Regions from separate parts of the Homo sapiens genome. Here region 1 is linked to region 2. Evidence: promoter capture Hi-C in human tissues and cell types (Jung and others, 2019). All regions are on one chromosome and are shown on one strand. Each heading gives the region's core, a stretch centred on a gene start or on the middle of the fragment in contact. The rest is flanking DNA. Distances are from core to core; before and after follow the strand shown.

What was found. Contacts are between HindIII fragments. The study calls those that stand out against the background at their distance.
Region 1: a fragment that was not itself captured here is called in contact with the fragment with the promoter of MAP2K3 in region 2 in 1 of the 25 tissues and cell types used here (spleen).

Annotation. Positions count from the first base shown.
Region 1 is chr17:21,237,731-21,244,701 of GRCh38, forward strand. NATD1 (N-acetyltransferase domain containing 1) reads right to left here. Exons shown (of 3, transcript NM_152914.3): 2 at 6,376-6,494; 3 at 1,140-5,699. The coding sequence ends at 5,583. Among named protein-coding and RNA genes, the nearest start is that of NATD1, 12 kb to the right of the region's middle. RefSeq lists enhancers at 1,123-1,867, 2,613-3,357, 6,336-6,971. The HindIII fragment of the contact is 8,520 bases long and covers 1-5,772 here.
Region 2 is chr17:21,279,263-21,286,153 of GRCh38, forward strand. It overlaps MAP2K3 (mitogen-activated protein kinase kinase 3), which reads left to right and starts at 5,449. Exons shown (of 12, transcript NM_145109.3): 1 at 5,449-5,707. The coding sequence starts at 5,659. RefSeq lists enhancers at 745-824, 4,521-5,021 and a silencer at 4,908-5,437. The HindIII fragment of the contact is 7,420 bases long and covers 500-6,891 here.

The sequences.
Region 1 (6,971 bases), core at 263-2,762, 45 kb before region 2:
TCCCTCGACCCTCAGACAAGCTCTTCCCAAGACAAGGGACCTTTTACTTTTAGCACTCCAGTGCATGATGTGCTGGTATTAGTGATGGCAGATGAGCTGGTATTGCTAATAACCATTATCTCACCCGTCCACACATCCATCCACCCACTTACCCATCCACCCACTCATCTACCCCTCCATCTATCACCCAATCATCTACCCACTATCCATCCATTCTTGGTCTGCCTGGTTCTGGGGTCTGTCATCCTCTAGATGCTTTGCCTCAGCCTTGGTATCAATGAACTGGCATTTATGTCATATGCCACAGCCCCTGCAGGCAAGAATATTTCTCCTTGCCCTGATTGTCTGTTGGTTGCCAGCCCTTCCCTTCTCTGATCACAGAGAAGCTGGAAGCCTGCAAACTACATTTGCTAGAGCCCTTACCAGTGGGCTTCCAATTTGTTTCTGCTGGTAGGAAGCACTGATCAATCAGAAGGCAGTAAAGTTCCTGGATCTGGGGGTTTTTTTAGTGGTGGCAACAGCAGGCATGCACACCTGGGTCTTGTTCAGCCATCAACTTTCTACCAGGAGTACCCTAGCAGCCCTGTGATCCCCAGACGCTTCTGGGTGACACCTGTTCCTCCAGCCTCCATGTAAAAGCAGCTTCCTGCACTTACTTACCAATATTTTGGCAATCTCACCTCCACTCTCACTCCTCTCATCCTTCCAACAGTTTTCATAACCAGTCCCCTGCATTAAATCCACTCTGAAGTGCCTGGGCAATTTCCATTTTCCTGACTCTTCACTGACTGGTAATGTCCTTGGTAGCAGGAATGACTTCCTAGAAATAGAGCCTTAATGCTGGAAATCGGGGACTGGTTATCTGCCTGGATTGGGCTGGAACGCAGTAATGACCTCACTGTCAGAGGGGATGTGGTACCCTGGAAAGTCACAGCATTCAGTGGCAAAACTAGTCCTCACAATATCACCTATGTTAAGTGCCTGGCGTGAAGTGTCTCTTGAAGGCAAAGTTTGAGAGACCAAATGGCTGCAGCCCTTCATGTCATGGGGACAGCTGGAGAGACTGGTGGCTTCTGACTACACTGGAGTCAGAAGTGATAAACCCAGCTCAAAACATGGACAGAAAACCAGAGAGCATCTTTGATAACCAGAAAAGAATCTCTTTAATATCTTGTAGCCGTAAGACTGATACAACTGAAAACATAACCCTAAATTTGATTCTGCAGGTTGCAGTTACAACACAAGTTGAAGTCACAGCCTTGCCGGAACTCTTATGTAAAGTTTAGGGCATTGGATCTGGAAGGAGTGGGACCCTGAGAATCGTAAAGGGATATTTGGGTGGACTTGAGCAAATCCAAGAACCCTGAACTGAGGAAGAGCAGTGTGAGTACATGGTCAGGGGCTCCATGAATATTCCTGCCTGCAACCCCAGCTTCACAGGCAATTCAGCCTTCTCCACACTGGCCCGGCACTGGCTAGCTGCTCACCTTATGGCTCGAGGCAGGACCCCCCCGCAGCCTTGCAGCTGAGTGGGAAGTTGCTGGAAGTTGTATCTGTTTATTGCTTTTAAGGCTGTCATGAGCAGACATAAGACCTCATATCACACAAGCTTGATGCCACCAAGAGGACGGGAGCTGGGCTGGGTCCTGAGCCCTTCTAGCGGTGTGGCTTTGGCTTGTGACCCCCGACTCAGCCTCAGTATCATCTATCAAATAGGCCTAATAATGGGCATGTCCCGGGACTGCTGTGAAAACGAAGTGGAGTAAGATTGCAACGGGGCCTGGTGAGGTGGCTCACGCCTGTAATCCCAACACTTTGGGAGGCCGAGGTGGGCGGATCATTTGAGGTCAGGTGTTCAAGACCAGCCTGGCCAACATGGTGAAACCCCGTCTCTACTAAAAATACAAAAATTAGCCAGGCATGGTGGTGGGCACCTGTAATTCCAGCTACTCGGGAAGCTGAGGCAGGAGAATTGCTTGACCCGGGAGGTGGAGGTTGCAGTGAGCTGAGATCGCACCTCTGCACTCCAGCCTGGGCGACAGAGCAAGACTCCCATCTCAAAAAAAAGATTGCAACAGGCCTGGCAATTTATCTTTCATTCTGAGTAGCCATGTAACCCCTAGTGGTAACTAGGAGAAATTGTCCTCCAGCAGTCTGTCCCCTCCCTCAGTAGCTGGGGCGGAATGAGATATGGCCCTGGGCCTGGTGCAAGATTTTCACTTGTTTTGGAAGCATTAGCCACAGCTTTTCCTTGATGGGCATGTGTTATCATGAGGCTGGGCCTCACCTCCCTGCATTGGACCAGAAATTCTAAAGGAAGCAACTTCTTATGGCACAGCGGATCTCATGCATGGCATCACTGCCCCTTCCCTAGGAGACCGCACAAAGCCACTCAGCTTCATAGCTGGGCTGTGGCCTCAGAGGCTTTTGTGCCTGGAGGTGGCAGGGAACTGTGGTGTGGGGGCTGGGCCAGCCGGGAAGGTAGAGCCGCCCAGACTGGGGTCTGGGTTCCTGAAGTCACTGTTATCCTGCAGGGAGACCTCAGCCAAGCCCCAGTGACACGCAGGGTCTCGCTCTCCACGCTGAAGGCTGTGCTGAGGGCTGAGCAAAAAGAGGCCAGACACCAGGGAGGGAAGCCCGCCTCCCCCTCCCCACCTCGACCTCCACACCAGTTAAGGCTGACCGGCAGGTTGCTGTGGGGGAAGCGACAGCGTGCAGACAGCACTGCATGCCAGGCCACACCTTTTATGGAAATGTTCCTCTGAGACCTGTTGATGAGCTTGGAGAATGAGGAAGGGGACGGTCCAGCGGCCAGCTGGGTCCACACCCTGCCGCCGGCCCTGAGGAGGGAAGGCACGAGTCACTGCCTATTTTGACCCGGCAAGAAATACAAACCCACAGGGTGAGGCGGGCAGAAAAGCAGCTCTGTGGGAGACCTGCAGGCCCCTGAGCATCCCCTGCCCCAGTCAGGTTCTCGCCCAGGTGCATAAACCGGCCCCATGTGGCGGCATCCTTACCAAGGACCCCCAGGTGACCGGACAGGAGGGGTGAGGCTAGGCTGCCAGGCAGACAGGGTAGCACCAGATGGGATGGGCTGGGGGCTCCAGGGCACGGTGTCTGTGGCAACCCAACCTGGGAAGATGTTATTGCTCTGCTGGAGACCTTGGGCCAGGCCCCGCGAAGCCCTGCCTAGCCCCTTGGCGTGGGTTAGCGGTGCTTTAAGGCAGCCCGAGGCGAGGAGGCCAGGTCATACCTGCGGGAGCTTGATGAGGCCTCATGAGAAAGCCCTAGTCTCAGTTCCTGGGCCCGGGGCCTCTGCAGGCCTCCACCACCCCATGCTGCCTAGTTCAAGTATTTGTTGTGGGCTGGCCAGATCAAGAGTCACCTGCTAGAACACAGGGGTAGGAATCTTAGGTGGGAGTGGGAACAGAGTGGCACCAGGCCCATTCCCTCCTGGCTCTCAAGGTCCATGCTGGCCCTCAGGGGCTTCCTGTGGGGGACTCTTTGTGCTGTCACTGCAAGGGACCCTCCTGCGGATGGGCTGGAGGCCACAGGGACATGGCCCCAGCTCACTGAGCTCCTGAGTGGTCATGATTGACTATGTGCTTGAACTTGGGGAGGGACGTGTAGATGGGAAGGGGGTGACCTTAGGGAGGGTAAAAGAGGACCCTAGCTCTGCTGCCCTGGGACAGTAAGGGGAAGGCCCAGGCCTGGCTGCCCATCCTCTGTGCCTACAACCTGCTCTTTCCTTAAATTCTGCCAGCAATGGGCCACCCCTAGCCCCGGAGCAGCTCAGCCCACCTCCTGCCAGCTGCATCTCCCTGGAGGCCCAGGGCTTTCTCCGACCTCTCACACAAGCCCTTTGCAAAAGAGCTGACTTCCTGGAGGCCAGGGCAGGAGCATCTGCCACAGGTCAAGGGGCAGGGATGTCGGGGGTACTCAGGATGGTGACCCCTCCTGGTCCATGCTGTGACCCACAGCAGGGGTTTCGAGGAGACTCCGGGGCTCGGGGACCCCCATCGGCAGGCTGCCAGGCCTCCCTGCACATGCAGGTCTCCGTGGTCCTGCGTCCAGGCAGGAAGGCCCCTGGGCTGCTGTTGCTGGAGAAGGAATGTGGGGGGTCTCGGTGCCAAGACTGGGGATAGCAAGGAGGTGAGTGGGAAATGCAACCACAGGCCAGCCAGCGCCCGTGCATGGAGTCAAAGGGAGGAGTCAGCATGGTGACCACTGCCCCTGCACCGGGGGAGGAAGGCATGGGGGTCCTGGTGAACCTCTCCCTGTACTGCCCAGAGCCCAGCCTGACTCCCCCCGAAGCCGGGTAGGGATGCATCACTCCGACTAACAAATGTCTCAGCCCTAAAGGGCCCCTGGCTCCAGGTCACCCTCCAGCTCTACAGAAGGGCAGGGACGAATCTGATCCTTGTTAGCACTGACACAAGAGGGCGGGACCTGAGTCAGCCCCAGGGGAAGCCAGCATGCCCTGGAAAGGCTGGTCCCACCAAAGCATGCTAGTGTGTCTCCCAGGCTGCACCCAGGAAGGCTGGGTTGGGGAGGAGCCCAGGGCCAGATGGGCAGCAAAGTGTATCCGGCTGTAGCCAGCCACAAAAGAGGACACTGATGTCTGGCAGCAGCACAGAAACCCCTGTGGCTGATGTTTCTTCCTCTTGGATGCTGAGGGTGGTTTTTGGAGAATAGTCAGCTTCACTCCCACCCCAGCCCCAAGGCATCTCCTCGGAGAAGGCTCAGGCAGGTGGCCAAGGCCAGCAAGGGGCGGGCCTGCAGCTGCTCAGGCCCCCTTGGATCTCCTCCTGGCAGACAGGGGTATAGGGGATAGCAGCCCATGGGGATGGGGCCTTGGTTTCCTGCAGAACCTACACGAGAGGCCAAAAAAAAGATGGGGGTACCAAGGAGAGGAAAACACCCCCGGCACCCACCACCAGCCCGCCTGTAGACTGCATCCTGTGTGTTCACATGTGTGAACCGCACGTACGGTTGAGCCTGGCCAGTGCTCAGTCCTTCACTCTGCTGGTCTCTGTCAGGGAGAGCTGACCCTTTCCAGGGCCCTGCCTGCACTGGGCATGGGGGTCTGAGAAAGGGGCAGCACCGCTGGCAGGTGGGGTCTGGCACTGCCACCCTCAGAAGCTGGCACACGAGGTTTCTTATTGCTCCTCTTGGCTCTGGAGCACACCTTCTTAATTTCCAGAAAGGACACAGGCCCAGGAGAGGTGGCAGCAGGGGTCCCACACTGGCCCTCCTGCTGATCTCCAAGTGGAGCCCGGTGGGCAGGATGCAGGCTGGCTCTAGCCCCTACGTGTGACCCACAGGCCTCCCACGAAGCCGCTGGTCTCTGCAGAGTGAGAGGTGCCGGGACTACCTGGCCTCCTTGCCGCCTCGGTTACCGGGTCACCGCCCATCATTGGTCAGCTGCCTCCAGGGATCTGGACGTGGGGCACAGATGAGTGTCCTTACAAAAATAACTCTGAGTCTGTTCCCAGTGGGACCAGGTTCCTGAGAGCACGTGGGGCCAGGCAAAGGCCACGTGGAAGAGTCCGGCAGGGAGCGCTCCCGCCTGCAGGCCAGGGTTACGGCTGCAGGCGCTCCAGGTACTGCGGCAGGGGGTTCTCCTTGACGTACTTCTGGATGTACCAGCAGGTGAGATGGGCCTTCAGGTCCTCCTCCACCACGAAGTCCAGGGCGGCCTGGGAGCCGGGCAGAGAGGAGAGTGGTCAGGGCCTGCAGCCGGCACCAGAAGGTAGCATTGTCTGCTGCCTCCCCAGGCCCGGCTCCCTGGCCACCCTTCCACTTTGCCCAGGTCAGTAACTCCCTTGAGTTTCAGTGTCACCTGGGATGATCCCCACAGACTGGTCCGGTACACAAGGAAAAAACACATCACCTCTCCCCTACAAGCCCCCTTGCCCCAGGCAGCATGGAGGACAAAGGTTGCCCTGCAATTCTCCTGGCGGGGTGGGGGTGGAGGAGGGGAAGCCGGCAGACGGCCCAGCTAAGTCCCAGCAGCAGCCCTCAGGGGAGTGACGGTCATTCTTTGCTCTGGCTGTAACTCCCTTCATTAAGCCCAAACCTGCTCTCCAGGCAGCCTGGGGTTTGGGATGCCCTGAGGATGAAGGGGTTGGGGGCAGGAATGGGGCTCCTGTGAAGCACCTGCCACACAGGAGGTGTGTGAGGATCTTGGAGGCTCAGCCACGCCAGGGTCTTGCAGAACAGGAGCCTGGGCCCAGAAAGGCGGCCACTGGCCCAGAGAGGACCCAGGGCCAAGAAGCAGGCTGAAGTGGCCACCAGGGCCACCGTCTCCTCGGAGCGAAGGTGGCAGCCCCCATGTCCCCGTCCCCGCTTGGCCCTGCCACCTGCCTGCCCTACCTTGGCAAGGTGCTTGGCGATGCCACGCCCACGGTAGGCATCTGGGACCTCGGTGTGCTGCAGGTCCACGATCCGCTTGCCCACGTACTCATAGAGCAGGACGGCCCGGTCATGACATCCTGGGGGTTGTGGAGACAGGTAAGCCTATGCTGACTCCCATCCCAGCGGACTCAGGCACCAAGACGGGTGGAGGGACAGGCATTTGGAGTCATTCAGCTGCTACAGCTGAATCCTGAATAACCTCTCAGTGCCTCAGTCTCCTCATCCATAAAGTGGAGGTACAATAAAATGTCCTTCATAGGGTGGTTTGGAGGATTAAATGAGGTAACCTCTGTGACGTGCTTACAGCCATGCCTAGAACACTTGAGCCCCACATGAACCTTTGCTACTGCGTCAGTCCTAGCATCCCAGGGCCCTGCCACCCCTTTCTGTAGCCCTGCTCCCTGCATCCCCACCCCACCACATCCCTGGATCTGGGAGTCCCAGAACCCAGCACTGGACACAGAACAGGGCTCAGCAAATCTGCAACTAAGGCAGAGCATGAAGAGATTAGAGAGGCAGCGCTGCGCCACGCATCAGGACCACCTGCTGGACCC
Region 2 (6,891 bases), core at 4,199-6,698:
TTTCCTCCACTCCGCAAGTATTCACTGAGCACCTACTGTGTGCCGGAGACACTGCAGTGACCAAAGCAAAGGCATTGCCCCCGTGCAGCTTGCATCACAGTGAGTCCATAAGATGCTGTGCTTGGAGGGACTAGCACATAGTAGGAGCTGTAAAAATAGGACTTGCTGTTTTGCTAGTGGAGCCAGTCACTTGTGTGAATTCATCTTTTGATATTTGAGAGTGATGATGATTTAAAGAAAGCAGGTGAGCCTCCGTTGAGGTTTCCTTCTCTATATTTCGACTTCAGAACCGGCCCCTGAGTAAAAGATGCTCAGGAACCACATATTGCTGCCTCCAAGCTTCTCAAGTTTTCACTTTTCCACCATCACCAGCATGGCCTGATGCTGTTCTGGGGAGAACCAGTCACAGGCCCTGCTTTCAAGCAGCAGGAGTCGTATGGGAGAGGCAGACAGGGGCGCAGCCACTGACAGGGCGGGTGAGCCATGGTGAGAGGGGCTGGGGCAGGGGCACTGGGCAGAGCAGTGTCAGGCAGGGCCTCCTGTCCCACCTTCAGAATTGGGCCTCGAAGGAGCGGAGGGAATGTGTCAGGTCGGAAGGTAGGGAAGGGCATTCCTGGCTAAGGGAACAGCCTTTGCAAAGAAAGGTTCAAAGAGGAAAGCTTGAATTCAGAGTGGCTGGACTGGGGGATGTCTGGAGAAGTCACCAGGGGTTGGAGTGTTGGAAGTTGCCCGCCTAGGGAGCCAGGGCAGGACTTAGAACTTGGCCAGCCGTGTTTGGGAAGGCTCTGGCTGCAGTGTGGAAGGCCTGGGGGCAGGCAGCACAGAGAAGAGGAGGCTGGATGGCCGTCAAAGCAGTGAGGGCAGTGGATCCTGTGCTCCTGGGCACTCTAGAGCACTGCCGGGCCCTGGTCACCAGAGGGCGCTGTGGGGCAGCAAGCAGTGGAGGCCCCAGCTGGTGGCAAGGCTATGCATAGACCATGTGCACCGCTGTGCCTGTGGGTTGTGTCTGTGGACGTGACCATGTGGTCCCTCCACATGAACGTACACACTTGTGCACCCCCTTGTGTCATGTGTGTGTGCATGTGTATTTGGGGTGTGTGGACTTGCACAGGTGTGAAGGGGCACGTGGGAGTGAGTACGTCCAAGGGGGTGTATATAGGTGAGAACAGGGACTCCTCAGCTCCCACCACCCAGCCACATCGGTCTCCTTGTTACTCGCCTACAAGCCATCCACCTCAGGGCCCTTGCACAACTGTTCCCTCTGCCTGGAATGCTTTTCCCCCGGATCTCTTTGTGGGTCCTTCCGTTAAGTCCTTTGGTCTCTGTTTATGTGGCACCTTCCAGGGAGGCTTTTCCTGACCTCCCTCCTTAAAATTATAGCCCCCATGTCCAGACACACACCCTGTCCCCTCCCCTACTTTCCCCCATAGCATTTGTAATAATTTTTTGTTTTTTGAGACAGGGTCTTGTTGCCCGCCAGGCTGGAGTGCAGTGGTATAACCTTGGCTCACTGCAGCCTTGACCTCCTGGGTTCAAGTGATCCTCCCACCTCAGCCTCCTGAGCAGCATGCCACCATACCCAGCCAACTTTTTTTTTTTTTTTTTTTTGTAGAGACGAGGTTTTGCCATGTTGCCCAGGCTGGTCTCAAACTGCTGGGCTCAAACGATCCACCTGCCTCGGCCTCCCAAACTGCTGGGACTATAAGTGTGAGCCACCATGCCTGGCCTGACATAATTTGACTTAGGCATTTTGCTTGTCTGGCTCACACACCAGGTCATACCTCCCCAGGGAGTTGTGTCCATCTTGTTCAATGTTGTGTTCTCAGTGCCAGTCACACAGTAAGTGCTCAATGAATATCTGTTGAATGAATGAAGGAGCTGCCCACATCCTGGGTTTGGGTCAGCCTCTCTCTTTTTTTTCCCCCATCATCAGTATTTATTGAGCATTTACAGTGTACTAGGCACAATAGAACATACAGAAAACATTTCCCTGCCCTTGAGGAGCTTACATTTTAAAAGAAAAAATACACCTCTTTTAAAATGGCATTTTTGTTTGGTGTTTTCTGCAAAGTACCGAGGAAATATTTTGTAAAGTGATGCTTTGGGTATAACTTAGCCCCATCATTATTTAAAGAATAGAGGAAGAAGAAAGAGGAAGGATTTTAAAGGCAGACAATGACAGACCATTCAGGATAGGTAGGGTTTTAAAGGGAGATAAACACAATCTCATCGACTAAGGAGAGATTTGCTGTAGTAAATAGGATGAGGGAAATAGTCTGTGGGATGCAAGCAAAGGAAGCAGGGTGCCTTAGACATTGATTGGAGCCAGAAAGATCATGCGGCCTTTTTCCAAGTACATGGCCACCAAGTAGGAATGGTTGGTGACAAGACAGAAGGCTAAAAAAGGAAGGTAATCTTGTGCACCTGACAAATAGAAAGAATAAAGGATCAAAATCGAAGGCAGGCTACAATAGTATCAAGAAATTCTTAAAAACCAAAAAGTGATTTGGAAGCACAAAACTTATAGTTAATGCTATTGAGTCAGCCTCTCTTTACAGCCTTCTGTCACCCCAGGTCCTGCCCACCTCAGATCATGCTTGCATCCTGACTTTGGCCACAATCCTTCCCATCCAGAGACTCAGTTTCCTGCATCCACAGAGAGCAGGTTTGGGACTTTTCTCCTAGGAATCAAGGTAAGAGGCAGCCTCTTGTGACCCATGTCAAACATTTATTCTGCTTTCTGCATGGTCATGGAGTTCCCCAATCTGACTGTGCCACTTACAGACAGAAAGAAATCAAGAGATGTCACTATAGCAAGCCAGCAAGAGACCTTTGTCTCTGATGGTTCTTGATGGTACTTCTTGAGCTCCAGTGGTGCAGCTGTGCATCCCAGTCTGGCCCTCACCTGGTCCTCATGTGTGGCCCTTTTTACATCTCCAACCCATTGCCTCTGCTGTTCCTTTCCAGGGATGCTCTTCTTGCTTCTCTGCCTGGTAAGCTCCTACTGGTCCTTAAAAGTCCAGTCTCAAAATCACCTCCTCTGAGAGGCCTTCCTTGTCCCCACCCAGATGGAGATGGCTGCATCACCCAGGCACCCTCCTGGGACTTTTGCTCATGCATCTATTTATAGCACTCACATGGAGTTTTGTGATTCCTGAGCTGTTTATCGGGCTCCTGACTAATCCCCAAACTCCTTGTATGCGAGGGCCTGTCTGAGTCATCTGGCCGCCAAGGAGGTTGGCACGGGACTGGAGTCGCTTCACCCTGGTCTGTGGATGCTTTCCTCCTTCCTTTTTTCATTCCTCAAATATTTATCAGGCACCTACTATGTGCCTGGTTCTGGGCTATGCATTGGGAACACAGCAGGGAATGAGGCTCGGATGGTCTGGAGGGAGAGCTGTGTTAAAAACTGAGTCAGTAACAAAGACATCAGCAGCATAAGTGTTGTGCCTCAGTCTGGGGACCATGATGAGAAGGCCTCTTAGGGGTGTTCATTTAGGAAGCGGTCTGAGGGATGAGAGGGAACCAGCCCCAGGAGGCTTGAGTGGAAGAATGTTCTGGGCAGGAGCAGCAAGGGTGAAGCTGCTGCGGCAGGACCATCCCTGGCACATTTGAGGGGCAATACTGAGACTCTTGAACATCCCAAGAAGCAGAGTGCACAAGGCGGAGTGTGGCCTTGTGCAGAAGTCAAGGCTGTTGGCCAGTGCCTGAACCCAGAAAACTCGCTGGACTAGCCTTGCAGTTCTGGTAGAAAGGAAGCTGCTCCTGGATGCCCATTTTACAGACGGATAAGCACAGGTCACCAGGGATGATATGGCAAGGATGGAGGCAGCCCACAGTGTTTTCAAACTCACATTTCCTGGGCACCTAGTGAGTGCCAAGCCCTAGGCCAGGTGTTTCCACTCCTGAACTCATGAAACGCTTTCAGAGACCTTATTGTCCCCATGGGATAGGTAAACTGAGGCACAGAGCTGCTCAGTGACTTCTTTAAGGTCATCCAGCTAGTAAGTGGAGGAATTGGTATTGGAACCCATACCTATCTGAGCCCCAGACTCATGATTTTCCATCCCACTGCCTGGGAAGGGTGAACAGGAGACGCAGGAAGAGAATGGTGATGGCTGCAAGGCTTCCCTCTTATCTCCTGTGGCTCCCCACTCTGTGCATGGGGCCCTGCATCACCCCCACTTTACACCTGGGCAAGCAGAGGTCAGGCCCGGCCTCAAGCCTTTCTAGCAGGTGGTGGAATCTGCTTCCCTCACGTGAGGTCCCTGACAGGGTACACATGTCTGCCTGGAGGCCAGGGGCTGACCCCTTGACCTTTGCCTGGTACATTCTGCCTTCACTAGCCCTGGCTTTACATCCAGAGTCATCTGTTCCCAGCGCCAGATTGGTCAGCGGTTCCTGAAATCCCCCGAGGTTCCGTGTGGGAGCAGAGGGAGGACTGGCCCATCCAGCCATTATGCAGATGGGCAGACTGAGATCCTAGGAGGAGAGGAGAGAACGAAGGTCCAGGAGAGAGCCAGGATGGGGCCTCGGGGCTCGCGGGATAAAATGCACCGCATGCCGCCTCACTCCCTCTGAGACACGGTTTCCCCCTGTGTAGAACAGGGGCAGCAGTAACCAGCCACGAAAACTCCTCGTGCTGCCTCGTCACCGGGCATCGCTGAGCTCACCACCGACCCCGCGCCCTGGCCGGGCGCCTGGAGCGCGGGCGCGGGCGACGTTTGCTGGCGCCAGGCCCTCAGTGCGTGTTAGCGAGCAGCGCCGGGAGATAGCTGTCACCGCCGCCCGCTCACAGATGCGTAGACTGAGGCTCAGGTGTCACCACCTGACCAAGGCTAGTTCCGCTACAAAGCTGCCGACTCGGATCCGAACCCGGGTCCAATTTACAGAAAAGGAAACTGAGGCCCAGAGACACTAGGGAGCTTGCTAGGGTGAGGCAGCTGCAGGTTCAGAGAGCCAGGAGGCAGCCCAGCAGCGCACTTTTAACCCCCGCCCACTTCGGCAGGCCCAGCCGTGCCACCTTTAGGGATCTCGGGTTTTTTCCAGACGACGCACCCAGGAGAACGCGCCCGCGCATCGCACCCGCCGGGGCTGCGGGTCTGGGGGTGCCGGGCTGGGCCTGGGCGCCTGCAGGGAGCAGCGGGCTCAGTGGGTCCCGGGAGTGGGTGGGGCTTGCATGTTGACGGGCAGCGCGAGGGGCGCGGCTTTAGTCCAGGGGGCGGAGCCTGACCGGACCTGGGTTTTTCGGGCGGCTGGCGGACTTGACAGAGAGCGGGAGGGGCCCGGATCCTGGGCCTAAGGAGGGTGGGGCGTGTGCTTGACAGGCAGGGACAGGCCGGCGTCTGATAGGCAGAGGACGGGCCTTGGAAACGAAAGGACCAATCGGGCACGCAGGGGCGGGGCCTGAGTCAGCGCAGTTCGGCCGGGGTCTCCCCGGCGCTGCCCAGTCTGTCTCCGGCGCCGCCCGTCGCGGACTCGTCCTTGCTGCAGTCGCCGCCGCAGTCCTCGCCGCAGTCGCCGCCGCCGCCGCCGCCGCCGCCGCTGCTCCTCCGCCTGGCCTGGGCCGTCTGCCCGCAGCCATGAGCGTGCTCGGCCCCGGTGGAGCCCGCAGTCCTCTAGATTAGTCTCCACCGCCGTCCAGGACCCACTTGCAGCATGGAGTCGCCCGCCTCGAGCCAGCCCGCCAGCATGCCCCAGTCCAAAGGTAGGCGCTCCCGGCCGGGACCTCGGCCTGACCCCGCGCCTAATCTGGGGCCGGGCTGCAAACCCCGACCTTTCTTTGGTCCCACCCCATCCTGTTCTCGACCTGGCAGCGGCGTCCGGTCCCGGAACCCCTTCCTGTTCGGGGTCCCGGGACCAGCCCCCGCCTGGGCCCTCACCTGGACCCCCACGTTAGGCCTTGGGACTGCACTCAGGCCCGAGATCACCCAGGCTGGACCCAGACTAGGACTTTGTTCTGCTCACCCCATCCAAGTCAGGAGCCTCATTCTGACCTCATTTGGGCCTTATGGCTGCAGCCTGGACATGAACTCTCCCAGTCTTCTCCCTCAGCGGGACCCAGGTGAGATTCACACTGGCCTTCACCTGGGTCCTTGGGCAGCACCCAGTCCCATTTCTAGCTTCGGGTCCCAGGGCTGTATCCAGGTTGGGATTTAACTTGAGTCTCCATCTGGGCCCCAGAGTGCTCCTGTTGTTGCGGACCTCACTGTACCCCCTATGCGGGTGCTCTGGCTACACCCCAGCTCGGAACTCCCCGTCCTTCTCTCCCCCAGCTCTTCTTATCCTTATAGGCCCTATGTTGCCCCTTCCCTGGCTGGCCTGCACCCTGTCCTGCAGCCCTGGGCTCCCAGGAACCTTCCTTGTCCTCCCACCCCTCCCTAAGGTACAGCCCCCTCTCTACCGGCCTCTCTCTGTCTTGAGTTGCAAGCTTCTCCCTGCACTGGGGGTTCTCACCCCATCTTATTCTTGTCCTGGCTGCCTGGGATCTGGGCCAGCCGCCAGGCCAGGGTGCTGGCTGTGCAAGGGATTTGCTCTTCTCCAAGTAGCTGGCCTTCCTGGAAATTTTTGTGAGGTGGCAGCAGCAGGATTTGTCATGCGGAGGGGGAAGGATGAAACTCGGAGGGCAAAAGGGGAATTTTTTTTTTTTCAGGAAGAGGAAAGGATGTTTTTGGTGCGTCGGAGTTTCAGTAGGCTGGGTTGTGCGAGAGATTTCCAAACCGGACATAGCCGTAATGAATGGGCTGCCTCCTGGCTTTCTGAACCTGCAGCTGCTTCACCCCAGCAAGCTCCCTGGTGTCTCTGGGCCTCAGTTTCCTTTTCTGTAAATTGGAAGTAATCGCACCTGCTTCTGTGGACGTGGGAGTGTGGTGTGGGGTGGTGAATAGTAAA